Regions from separate parts of the Homo sapiens genome. Here region 1 is linked to region 2. Evidence: promoter capture Hi-C in human tissues and cell types (Jung and others, 2019). All regions are on one chromosome and are shown on one strand. Each heading gives the region's core, a stretch centred on a gene start or on the middle of the fragment in contact. The rest is flanking DNA. Distances are from core to core; before and after follow the strand shown.

Region 1 (6,423 bases), core at 1,375-3,874, 140 kb after region 2:
ATTCATGTTCCCACAGAAGACATGATCACATTCTTTTTTGTGGCTGCATAGTATTTCATGGTGTTTATGTACCACATTTTCTTTATCCAGTCTGTTACTGATGGGCATTTAGGTTGATTCCATGTCTTTCCTATTGTAAAAACTGCTGCACTGAACATTTGTGTGCACATGTTTTTATGGTAGAATGATTTATATCCCTCTGGATATACACCCAGTAATGGAATTGCTGGGCCAAATGGTAGTTCTATTTTTAGCTCTTTGAGGAATTGCCACACTGCTTTCCACAGTGATTGAACTAATTTACATTTGTTTTTTGACTTTTTTTCTTTTCCTTTTTGAGACATGGTCTCACTGTTGCCCGGGCTGGAGTGCAGTGGTGTGGTCATGGCCAATGTAGCCTTGACCTTTGGGCTTAAGTGATTCTTCCACCTCAGCCTTCTGAGTAGCTGAGACTATAGTCACGTGCCACCATGCCTGGGTAATGTTTTGATATTTTGTTGAGACAGGGTCTCATTGTGTGGCCCAGGCTGGTCTTGAACTCCTGAGCTCAAGCAATCCTCCTGGCTCTGCCTCCCGCCTCTGCCTCCCGAAGTGCTGGGATTACAGGTGTGAGCCACCATACCTGGCTCATTTTGACCTTTTAATAATAGCCATTCTGACTGGTGTGAGATGGTATTTTATTCTGGTTTTGATTTGCATTTCTCTAATGATCAGTGATGTTAACCTTTTTTTCATATGCTTCTTGGCTGCATGTATGTCCTTTGAAAAGTGTCTGTTCATGTCCTTTGCTCACTTTTTAATGGGGTTGTTTGTATTTTTCTTGTAAATTTGTTTAAGTTTCTTATAGATGCTGGATATTAGACCTTTATCAGATGCATAGTTTGCAACAATTTTCTCCCATTCTGTAGGTTGTCTTTTACTCTGTTGACAGATTCTTTTGCTGTGCAGGAGCTCTTAAGTTTAATTAGATCCCATTTGTCAATTTTTGCTTTTGTTGCAATAGCCCCTTCGTGATGAAATCTCTGACTATTCCTGTGGCCAGAATGATATTGCCTAGGTTGTCTTCCAGAGTTTTTATAGTTTTGGGTTTTACATTTAAGTCTTTAATCCATCTCGAGTTATTTTGTATATGGAAGGGGTCCAGTTTCAATCTTCTGCATGTAGCTAGCCTGTTATCCCAGCACCATTTATTGAATAGGGAGTCCTTTCCCAATTGCTTCCTTTTGTCAGTTTTGTCAAAGATCAGATGGTTGTAGGTGTGTGGCCTTATTTATGGGCTATTTTGTTTCATTGGTCTATGTGTCTGTTTTTGTACCAGTACCCTGCTGTTTTGGTTACTGTAGCCCTGTAGTACAGATTGAAGTCAGGTAATATGATGCCTCCAACTTTGTTCTTTTTGCTTAGGTTTGCCTTGGCTATTCAGTCTCTTTTTTGGTTCCATATGAATTTGAAAATAGTTTTTTCTAGTTCTGTGAAGAATGTCATTGGCAATTTGATAGGAATAGTGTTGAATCTGTAAATTGCTTTGGCCAGTATGTCCATTTTCACGATATTGATTCTTCCTATCCACAAGCATGGAATGTTTTTCCATTCGTTTGTGTCATCTCTGATTTCTTTTAGCAGCGTTTTGTAATTCTCACTCTAGAGGTCTTTCACCTCCTTGGCTGGCTATATTTTGAGGTATTTTATACTTTTTCTGGGAAGTCAGATTTAAAAGACTACATGCTGTATGAATCCACTTTTCTGAAATTCAGGAAAAGGCAGAACTATAGGGATGGAGAATTAACTTTTTACCAGATGTTAAGGGTCAGGGAGGGCTAATAGGAGCAGCTTGAGGGAGTTTTAGGGGGTGACAACTGTTCTGTGTCTTGATTGTGATAGTTACATGCATGTATATTTGTTAAATTCATAGAAATGTATACGAAAAGAGTGATTTTTACTAAATATAAATTTAAAAATAAACCTAAAATAACGGAATTCATTATTCTTGTCTCAGAAACAAGCCGATATGTAAACACAACAACCACTACTCTGATCCTCCATCCGTATTCTCTGTCTTATGTTATCTTGCCATACTACTCAGATGGCTCAGTTAAAAACCATGGAGTCATCCTCAACTCCCTTTTCTTCCTCACCAGATATCTGTTACATTCATTTGGCCTCTAATTTTTACTGAATCAATTTCAGAAATATTTCTAGAATCCAACTTGTCTTCTATGTTTTCATTGTAGTAACTTGTTTAGTTCACGCCTTCAGCATCTTTCCTATCTCTCTCTCTGAACTATGTAAAAACAACCTTTTCCTTAATTTGTTTAATTCTATTCCTTAGGATCAAGTCCAAATTTCACAGCTGCATTATAGGAACCATATGTCCTCTAACCTACCTTTATAGCTTTATGTTCTGCCATGCATCCTCATTTTGGACACACTTAGTCTCTTACTGTTCTTGGTTATGCAAGGCTTCTTCAAAAACTTTGCCTTTGCATATATTCCTTCTGCTTGAAATGCTTGATTCTCCCCATTTCTCTTTCCTGTTTTTCCTTTAAAATAGGATACCCATGAAGCTTTCAGAAGTCCCTAAGGCACAATTAGTTGCCATATCTTCACTGCTCTCTCAAGATTTAAAGCATGTATTTTAGTGTACTCCTTACAATAAAATTTGCCAATTCATTAGTCTGTCTCTTCAATATCAGGGATGGCAGACAGATGCCAGCCTCTCCTTCTCTTGTGTTTACTTCATAAGCTAATTGGTCACAACATTGTCTCTGGTTGGACATGGATATGTCCTCTGAATTTAACAGAATAACATACTGGGTACTCACTATCTACTGTTAAACTGAAGTTGGCACCCTGCTTTAGGCAGATTTTGTGTGTGTGTGATGTGTAAGTCCAGAATAGGTTATAATATCAGTATTTTAATATTCCTATAAGATAATATCAAGATATCAATACTGTTACATTGTTAAAGTTTATAATTCACTTTCTAAAAGTAAAACTAGCACATATATTCAAATATGAAATATATTTGCATATATTTTATGTATTTATAAAATAGGTATATAAATGTTAATGTTTTAAAATACATTTGCAATAAAACTACTTAAAAATAAAGTATACATGTATTTTAGTATTTCAAAAGAACTAATTATACTGGAGTACTAAAAACTGATATTGTAGTCATAATTCAAGTCCTGACCCTTGTGGCCATAGCTCTTAAGGCAATGCCTTCAGTAAGTGAAAGAAGCCAGACCCCAATAAATATTTGAGATGTGCTTACTGGAGCCTAATATCATATTTCATTAAAAATAAGATACTTCAAAGCTGGTTATTTCTTGATCTAGCCAGAAACTGTAATTTAGAAGACTTTTTTTTTAACCCAAATAATTCATGATTATTTCCTGACAGTAATTATGTTTCAGAAAGGTTAAAACACTGTGGGGGCTAGGGAGACAGGAAAGGTTGTTGCATCTTAGAATCAATAAGATAGGGTAAACTTTGTCTTTGTTTAGACCAAAATTATTTGTTTAAGATATTATTTCTAAAATATGTGGTCATTTTGCTCTAATCTTGATGTGGAATTAAGGGAATGTATTCTTTGTACATAATTTTCAGAATGGGTTTTGTTGACCTGTTAATCAGTGAGCCTGAATTTAGTTGCTAGATTAAGTGTCTCATGTTGTTTTGAGAGAGTGAGTTATCAGTGTCTGTTTTCTTTTCTCCTTCCTTTAAGATGCCATGGCTAGTCCAGGGAAAGATAACTATAGAATGAAAAGTTATAAGAATAAAGCCCTAAATCCTCAAGAGATGCGTAGACGAAGAGAAGAAGAAGGAATACAGCTTAGAAAACAAAAAAGAGAAGAACAGGTAGGTGTTTTTAGCTATTTAATTTTGTTTTTTAAAATTTTAATTATTTGCTAATTATTGGATAATTTTAAATGGAAATGTTTTAAGAAATTGAATATAGCTAAATCTATTATTTATTAGACTCCAGGCATCATAATTGCAAATTTGTGAAACAGAACTCTGTGCTACTTTAGTCACTGGGAGAAATGGATTTTCTGTTTTATTGATAAACCTGTTGTGTTAATTATATTTTTACCCTACTGCTAGGAAATTTTTCCTCTTGCATCTATTTAGATCACTTCCATTTGTCATTGTAAAATTTGCCCCTTAAAGAAACATTAATTATATATTATTTGCTGCTTTGTAGTTTTCATAATTCTTGCCCGTAAGTAAATTATTGTCATCTTCCCATGCTATTCATACTGTTCCCCCATTGTCTTATTAGCTGGATCTCTGTTTATACTTTTCATATGTGACATAAAGAATATAAAATTGTTTAAGAGAGTACATCTCAACATTTTTTATTCCAAGATGTACTTAAATGTAGAAGTATTTGTAAGTAAGTAAAATAATGTGGTTCTCACACATGTGAATTAAAACTGATGTATGAAAAGGACTAGCAGTGAAGAAAGTAGAAAAGGCCTATTCTCTTCTATTGTATTCTATTCTATTGTATTCTGTAAGTAGAGATGGGGTCCTGCTATGTTGCCCAGGCTGGTATTGAACTCCTCGCCTCAAGCAATATTCCTGCCTCTGTCTCTCAAAGTGCTAGGATTACAGGCATGTAATAGGCAAGGCCTATTTCAGAAATATGATAATGATTTCTCATCTCCCTATCTACAGCGTCTAACACAATCCTTCATACATTATAGTAGGTACTAAAAAAATTGTGTTGAATAAATGATTAGAAGGAAGATTGTTTACATATTAAAGAAGAACAGGCTGGGAGCCCTGGCTCACCCCTTTAATCCCAGCACTTTGGGAGGCTGAGGCGGGCGGATCACGAGGTCAGGAGATTGAGACCATCCTGGCTAACAAGGTGAAACCCCATCTCAAAAAAATTAGACATGCGTGGTGGCTGGCGCCTGTTGTCCCAGCTACTCAGGAGGCTGAGGCAGGAGAATGGCGTGAATTCGGGAGGCAGAGTTTGCAGTGAGCCGAGTTGATGCCACTGCACTCCAGCCTGGGCGACAGAGTAAGACTCCATCTCAAAAAAAAAAAAAAAAAGAAGAACGATATTTATTTAGATGTCAAAAAGAATATAAGCAGATTTTGTTTTCCTCAAATTTTGATTTAGGAAATGTAGAGTTATCCCTTGGTTCCAGGATCCTCTGCAGATATCAAAATTCACTGATGCTCAGGTCCTTTATGTAAAATGGCATGGTATTTGCATATTACCTGCACACATCCTCTTGTATATTTTGAGTCATCTCCAGATTACTTATAATATCTAATACAGTGTAAATGCTGTGTAGTTGAGTTGTTATACTGTGTTGTTTTAAAATATGTATTATTGTCGGGCTCAGTGGCTTATGCCTATAATCCCAGCACTTTGGGAGGCCTAGGTGGGCGGGTCACCTGAGGTCAGGAGTTTGAGACCAGCCTGACCAACATGGTGAAACCCCGTCTCTACTAAAAATAAAAAAATTAGCCGAGCATGGTGGCGCACGCCTATAATCCCAGCTACTCAGGAGGTTTAGGCAGGAGGATCGCTTGAACCCAGGAGGTGGAGGTTGCAGTGAGCCGAGATTGTGCCACTGCACTCTGTCCTGGAGACAGAGCGAGACTCCGTCTCAAAAAATAAAATAAAGTGAAATAAAATATGTATTATTTTTTATTTTCGTATTTTGTTGTTGTTGTTTATTTTTAAGAGATGGGGTCTTGCTGTGTTGCCCAGGTTGCCCTCCAATTCCTGGGCTTGTGCAGCCCTCCCACCTCAGCTTCTCAAGTAGCTGAGACCAGAGGCACGTGCTGCCATGCTTGGCTTCTTATTTTTTATTGTTATTATTATTTTTGATCTGAGGTTGGTTGAATCTGGGAATGTGGAACTCACAGATATGGAGGGCCAACTGTACCTATAAATCTCCTTTAGTGAACTCACCATGTTTCTTTCTTCTTTTTTTCTGCTTCATTTTTATCTGCTCCTGAATTAATAAGCATAGTACTGTCATTCCTAAGATTTGTTTTCTATTCCTTGTTAATCAGATATACTAAATCTGTTAATGTATCAGATGTTATCTTTCATATGCAACAGATGTGCTTTTTAAGTTTTCTTGCAAAAATTCTTAGATACCTCATAATCCAGTGTGTAAATATGTGCTTTTTTAAGTGCTATAAAATGACCATGTGTATTCCACTTACACGCTTACTGTTGGTAAAAGATCTGAGATTGAAAGTGACGTGAAGTAGTCTGTGCAGCCAAAAGCTAGCCCAGAAATTTGACTTCTCATAAATACCTTAGATCTTCCTAGTATAATGATTGGGAAATACTCAAATATTCAGAATTTTAAGTTATAAAATTGATAGGTTTCTTTTGTCCACTCAAATGAAAACATGGAATTCTATGGCAACTTAATGTTT
Region 2 (6,904 bases), core at 4,154-6,653:
CCAATCTGAACAGAAAACCACCATACTCAAAAAGAATCAGAGATTTTTCAAAACATATTGACAGAGATAAAAACATAGTTACCTGGGCAATTATGTCTATAATTTCTGAATAACTATGGCATCTTCCCACGCAGGATCGAGCCAAAAAGTCTTCCACAAGCCGCGTTCCAATGCCGTAACCCCTGTGGATGACGGAAAGAGTGTGGTCTGAAAATTCTAAGAAATTAGTGAAGTCTGTCAGTTTTTAAGAAGCGATTTGTGTGTTTAGCACTTGTGCAAGTGAATCACAAATCAAACCAAATATGACGAGTCAAATGGCTTTTGGCTGTGGGCTTCTTATTCGCCCCACAGACCACAAAGCAGAGAGCAACACACTGAGGAAATATTAACTGGTCTCCTGCAAGCAGAAGAGTCTGCCTAGAATCAAGACTTGCCCAAAGTTGACAATATAAATTAAAATTAAGGAAGGCTGGTTTCTGTAGCCTAATGTTTCTCAGTGGCAGCTAATTTTCTCATCATTAGCTATTGATGGAAATCAAATGAGATCCTAGCTAAAGCGTCTGCTACATGTGTGATACCCGGATGCTCGCTCTTCTCTTAGCATTGTTATCAGGGTAGAAGGGCAGGCATTTCCAGGATGGGCTCTGGAAGGAGGGGAAGAAGAGAGCAGAAAAAATTTTTGTTGCCAGTGAGAGTTTCGGCATCTTCAGACTCTGAAGTTTACTAAGTGAAAAACAGCCAAGTTCAGAAAACTCATTTTTCATTCCAGGGAAACAAACTATGGGATTGGGGGAAGGTATTGTATTATCTCCACCCCGAGAAAATAGCTCTAGTAGTGCCTGAAGTACAATCTTGAAAACCTTCGATTGAGATGTGATTATACACACACTGAATATGTAGCTAAGTTGGCTGAGCACACACTTTCAACAAGATAAACTGAAAAACGACTAGATTTCCCAGAAGGATACAAAGAAAGGTCAGAATCTCTATCTTATAAGAACTTGCAATCTAGCTGAGAAAATGTGACCTTCAAGGTGGAAATCAAACGGAACACTATTTTTGCCAAACCTCTATCAAAATTGGTCTTTTAATTTCACAGCCACATCTACATAGACAAGTGAAACGATTTCCAGTGGAGCCACAAAATGCCCAACAAGACACCACAGTGTTCAGAGGCAATGATTACTCCAGAGGCTCTAAAAAGAGATGAAATCTTTGGTGACTAGGTGGTTGGAGGGAGACGGATTTGATGTGAGAGTGCTTATGAATTCAATGAATCTTGTGAGATATCCTATTTATATTTCTGAGTGGATAGAAATATTCAGTTTAGCTTCCTTGACTTTGGAGAAAAATGGTTTATAATTTCAGCCAAGAAGCTCTCACTGCAAAGACTTTTAACAATCAAAATGTCTACTTTACAGAAATAGTTGTATCAGGATTAAAAAATATTTCCAGTGTTTTCTAATTCTCACTTTGCATATCCACAGCTCAGCAACTGGGAACAGTGGTCAGAAGCCAAAACGTTATGAGCTGTGCTATATCTACACATATTGCTTTGGTCAAAGGGTATGTTTCTGCAAAGTAGATATTTTATAAATTAAAAATGTAAGAGGCTCTCAGCAGAAGCTATTAAGGAAATCTAAATGTGAATTTTTTTCTTAAGGAAAGATCTTTCTGCAGCTTCTCAAAAATTTATTCTTTAATATTTCTTTCATATTTGTTAAATGTGTACTCAATTAGCTAACCAAAGGTATTTTTGTAGTCAAATAAGTGAGCTTTTTTATTATTCACAGCTTTTTCACAAAACAATGCAAGTTTAACATAAGTCAAATAAAATGAAGTAATTTCTGGAAATGCTATGTCAGATGTTTAAGTGTGAGCTAGCGTAAAATAACCTTAACATTCCTCACAGCTATAGACAGACAGTTCAGCTAACAAAGTGACTGAAAAATCTATAGGTAGACAGTTGGGCAGTTCTCTTCTTTGCGAATGCCCTTGACTAATTAAGTAGAAATTCCAAAAAAAAGTCATGTGTACAAAAATAAATTATAATTTTTTTAAAAGAAAAAAATATGCATACAGAAAGAAGAAAAATGAGAGTTTTTTAAAAAGACTTTCAATCTTTATGTTGTCTTTTTCTGTATTTCAACTGAAAATACAATGAACCCTTTTAAAAAGCTCTAAAATGTTAGGCTAAATTTCCCCTTCAATCTGCCTAGATAAATCTTCTAACCAGTACACATTTTCCAGTCTTTCCTCTGTTAGAGTCCTCTTCAGAGTTTATAATTAAAAAGCTCAAAAACCATTGACAGATGTTTTATTGTTTGGCAATCATCTGATGATCACATAGTTACTCAGAGAAAATCAAAAGGTGGAATTTGTGCAGGAGGAATCTCCAACAATAAAGACAAAGAGAATGGGTCTCATTTAAAAAGGAAGAAGTGAGTTTTTCTACCTAATATGTTTTTTAAGAAAAGCATAGTAATGATTAAAAAACATTCAAACAATAAAAATGCTATCTTAAAATAAACTCTCCCTTTAATTCACAATTCCTATTTTCTCCATCTTCCCCTTAGGAAACTACCATTGTGAGTTTCTTGTATATCTTTCAATAGATGGTCTGTGGTTGTGTAAGCATATATTTATATTGGAAGCAGTTGTGTTAGAACAAAAGACTTCTGAAAAGAATAAAATTTGATGTTCCCTCATGTTGTTAATAGAATAATTTCAATTTTACCACATCTTTTGCTTATAAGCGACTCTTAAGTCACTTAAGAAATGATTTCTAACTAAAGAGAAAACATCCCACACTTGATATTTGTAGGAAAAAAATCCTTCCTATTATCTTATTCTATCAACCCAAATGGCACTTGTAAGAAATTATGTTCAGCTTTCAGATGTGATTAATTGAGACAGAAGAACAGCTGGTGAAATGAAGCAAAGGAAGTCATTAGAGGCAGAAAGAATGCAGGTGATGTAAGAAACAACAGCCATTCAATAAGAATGAAGGACTTCCACTTACATTTTATCTAAATATTGGTTCACATCTTCATCCTTCTCATAATCCTTACACAGCTGGGCAACCAGAGCTCCATAGGTAAGGACAAAGAGATCTTTATTCTGGAGAAAAAGGGGTAGTTTCTGGTTATAGGCAAGTTATGACAGTATACTACTGTATTTCTTTTGTTTATAAAATCTGGTTTGAAGTAGCCTTAGAAGTCACCTGTACATTTTTTCCTTCCTCCTATTATTGCAACAATTTGCACTTTTGAAAACAAATTATATTCACATTTGGATACATTGATGTGAGGTGGGGGAGAGAGAGCTGTTAAATAAAATGAATTTCGTAACATGATAACATCTTTCTATGCATTTGCTTACATGATAACTTGCAATGTATTTTCATGGAGGACAGTTTTTTAAAAATACTAATTTCTAACATAAATTTCTGTTTTTCTAAAATATATGCCATCCATGTTTTCAGTTGGAAGCAAGAATTGGATAAGACTTCTCAGGCGTCTGCACAATCCCTAATGGCCCCCAGATCTGCCAAGGAGACCTTCAGGATAAACCCAAATGTAGCAGCAAATTTGTGAGTTTCTTTTCTTTTTACTTAGAGAAAAAAGGGGAATGTGATATTTCCTTATAGTTCTCCAAAATATGTCCCATTTTTAGAGTAAATTATAAATGAAAACTAAAACTTAAGACAATTTAGGTTTGGCTTAGGGTTTTTCCAAGAACCTAATAATAAATCACAAGAAATGCTGGTAAATTATCAATGAAAAGTCTGCTCAACATATAAGAGCCACAGCAGAAGACAAAGTGCTGCCATGTACTAATGCTACAGCATAAAGATAAGCAAAGGTGAAGAAGAGAGAGAGAGAGAGAGAGAGAGAGAGAGAATGATGAGATTGTTGTGACTAGCAGTAAAACAAAAGAATTTGAAAAAGAGAAAAGTAGAAAAAATCATACCCTACCTACATGCCATGGCCCCAACATTGTGTCCCTTTATAATTAAGGCCAAACTGAAATAGTGGAATTTCTTCTCTGTCCCTGATGGGTGGGCACTATTATATATTGAAATCTATTTTATTTCCAGCTGAGTTTCTGGTTCAGTACCCATAAAGGCCAGCTTTCTCTATTCTGCTTCATGGCCAAGGACTGTACCTTGAACTATCTGTTCAATTGGGTCTCAAATCCATACCACAGATGCCAGGAAAGGTCAACATAAGTTTATCTTTATCGTTTTTAAAACAATAAAAATAATCATATGAATATCTGAAAGAACATCATTAACTATTTCAGTAGGTTATGAATGTATCAGGATAAAAATACATTTTAACTGCTTTATAAAATCAAGTGATTTCGGTATAATATGAACTATGTACCATATATTTTTAGCACTTGAGAGTCCCACAGGAAAATAAATCAAGATCCCAGAAGGCCAGAGGAGGTATCTGCAGGCATTTCAAACTGAAGTATGCTAGTTAGTCACTACAATTCTAAACACCAAGTCTGAAATTACTTAATTATATCAAATGCCCATCAGTCTCCTGACATAATTAACAGAATTTTAAAGTTAACAGTGAGTTTTTGTATCTGTAGTATCTGAGTGACTAAAACTATAAGAGAGTATTAAAGAATATTATTTAAAACTAATCTGCAAAAAAATAAGGTTTATAAATAACTCTTAACCTGGAATATATAGAAAGGATGATATTACATACCAAGCTACAATAAGACTAGGAAACATTTTTAAAGGCAATCCTTTTTTGATGACCTATTTCGATTCAGTTTTACACATAATCAACTATATATATACACACATATATATATACATACATACATATATATACATATACATATATATGTAAGTTCCCATTTCCTGAAGTATGAAATAGAAAAAATTGCTAATATTTTCATATTTTCTGTCAGAGGTGAAAAAATTGACACTCATATTGATATAATTAGTCAGAAAAGAAGACCTTAAAGTGTGTATAAAGAATTGATTATTCTTTATGTAGGAGATAATCATAATTATTCCTAGATGTGTCATTTATGATTCACTTCGCTGAACACTGTCTTTCCTCCACTAAAAATTCTTATAGCATCAGTTTTTAAAATCAATCAGAAATCACTCAAGAAAACATTTTCTCTGAAGTAGAAAAAATCTCTTTGTAGAAAGATCTTACTATTTTATGGTATTCTGGTCTTCGGTGTGCAGGGCGAGACATAGTGCTTGATAGATGAAGAATATGATCTTCAATTTCTCTTCTTTTGCCTGTTTCTTAGAGGTGTATCAGTCCATGTCTTTTTGTTTTGTTTTTGTAAGCTCTTCCTCGCTTTGAGACAGGAGTGCTGCTTCTGCACTCTGCTGCTTTTGCTCTTTGCTGAGCTGAAGAGGGAAAAAAACCATGAACAACAGGATTGTCTTATAGCCACGTAACTTGCCATGGATCAAATAACTGCTTCATTTGTAAGGATGAATTGTAATCTAGAGCCATAAAAGCTGATAATGTGAAGTCAGACCTGAAGCACTGCAACTCAAAAAATTCTTTAGCCCGAGGGAGTTCAAGAGTGGTGTTTTGTTCTCAGGCCAAGACATTGTTTTAAAATCAGAAACAGAAACCTTCGCAATCCAAGATAGATCTAAATGTTAGCATTATTCAGTCTTGGATTGATTGTTGTAAGAATTAGAGAGACAAGATCAGCAATCTGTAGGTAATAAATCCTGAGTTAAAACGTGATCCCTCAACTACACCAATGGTTATCACACTGTCCCCAAAACCATAGATCCCTATCTTGTGTGATTACAGTATTCAAATATATCTGGTAACTTTTTTGCTTTTCATTAGCAGCAATCAACAACATTAAGGAGTGATAGAATGGGCAATATTTTCTTACAAAACTGTTGTTCAAAATGGGCGCTCTACAGTATCATAATGTATAATGATTCTGATAGAGAAAGTAAGCCCTTAGCTTTCTTTTGAGAGCTCCTGAGACGTAAGCTATTGAAGGCTCTCTTTATTTACGCAGAAATACTTAAAGTTCAAATAAAAAAATCCTTTCACCTTGACAACTGCAGGGTGCAGAGTAGGATCAAAATCTTTCCAGAAATGGAAGCGGAAAACTCAGTTTAGGAAAGTAATTTTCTTCTACTTATAGTTTGAGTCCATTAGTCCTATTTGTTCTGGAAAATTCTTGCTATAAAGTGACAAACTCAAGAATACTTTGACGAAAAGTGTGGTGTAGTTGAAAGAACCTAGGAGGATTTGGAAGGCTCAGGCTGTTGCAGCCCTACCATTTACTGGCTGTGTGGCATTGGGCAAGCCATTTTATTGCTCTATGACTCAGTTTCCACATTTGCAAAATGGCAACAATATCACTCACCTCACAGAATAATTGTGAGAACCAAAGAGACGAGGCGTACCGTAAAACACATTAAAATGCACCATATAATAACTAGTTACTATAGGTTATTCTTGTGGTTGGATAAATTGAATGGAATTCTACAATACCTAAGGCATTTCCATCACTGCATATGTTCTATGACACTATGATCTCAGGAAAATTAATTTCACTTAGTTGTGGGGTATGGGGTGGAGAGTTTTTCAGTAGCAAATAATAACGACTTATATGTATATCAAATTTACAGTTTACAACATGGTTTTCGTTCTCTTCATCTCATTTTAATTCAGATACAATCTGTGAAATAGTACTGTAATCATGGCCATTTTACAGGATAAGAATCTAAAAGTAGAGAGGTTGAGAAATGTATTCAAGGTTATCTGGATGTTGGCAACAAGAAGGGATTTGGGCTAATTTTGATGATTCCAAGTCAAATTTATTTTGTACCGCACACACTCTAATTATGTTAGAGCAAACTATTTTAGAGGCAGACTCA

The links. Contacts are between HindIII fragments. The study calls those that stand out against the background at their distance.
Region 1: a fragment that was not itself captured here is called in contact with the fragment with the promoter of TRAPPC3L in region 2 in 2 of the 25 tissues and cell types used here (bladder and small bowel).

What each region holds. Positions count from the first base shown.
Region 1 is chr6:116,685,590-116,692,012 of GRCh38, forward strand. It overlaps KPNA5 (karyopherin subunit alpha 5), which reads left to right. Exons shown (of 14, transcript NM_001366306.2): 2 at 3,731-3,864. Among named protein-coding and RNA genes, the nearest start is that of KPNA5, 7.6 kb to the left of the region's middle. The HindIII fragment of the contact is 8,380 bases long and covers 1-6,423 here.
Region 2 is chr6:116,540,281-116,547,184 of GRCh38, forward strand. TRAPPC3L (trafficking protein particle complex subunit 3L) reads right to left here and starts at 5,404. Exons shown (of 5, transcript NM_001139444.3): 1 at 5,193-5,404; 2 at 3,023-3,120; 3 at 83-182. The coding sequence starts at 5,234. It also overlaps a transcript of CALHM4 not described here. The HindIII fragment of the contact is 13,462 bases long and covers 1-6,904 here.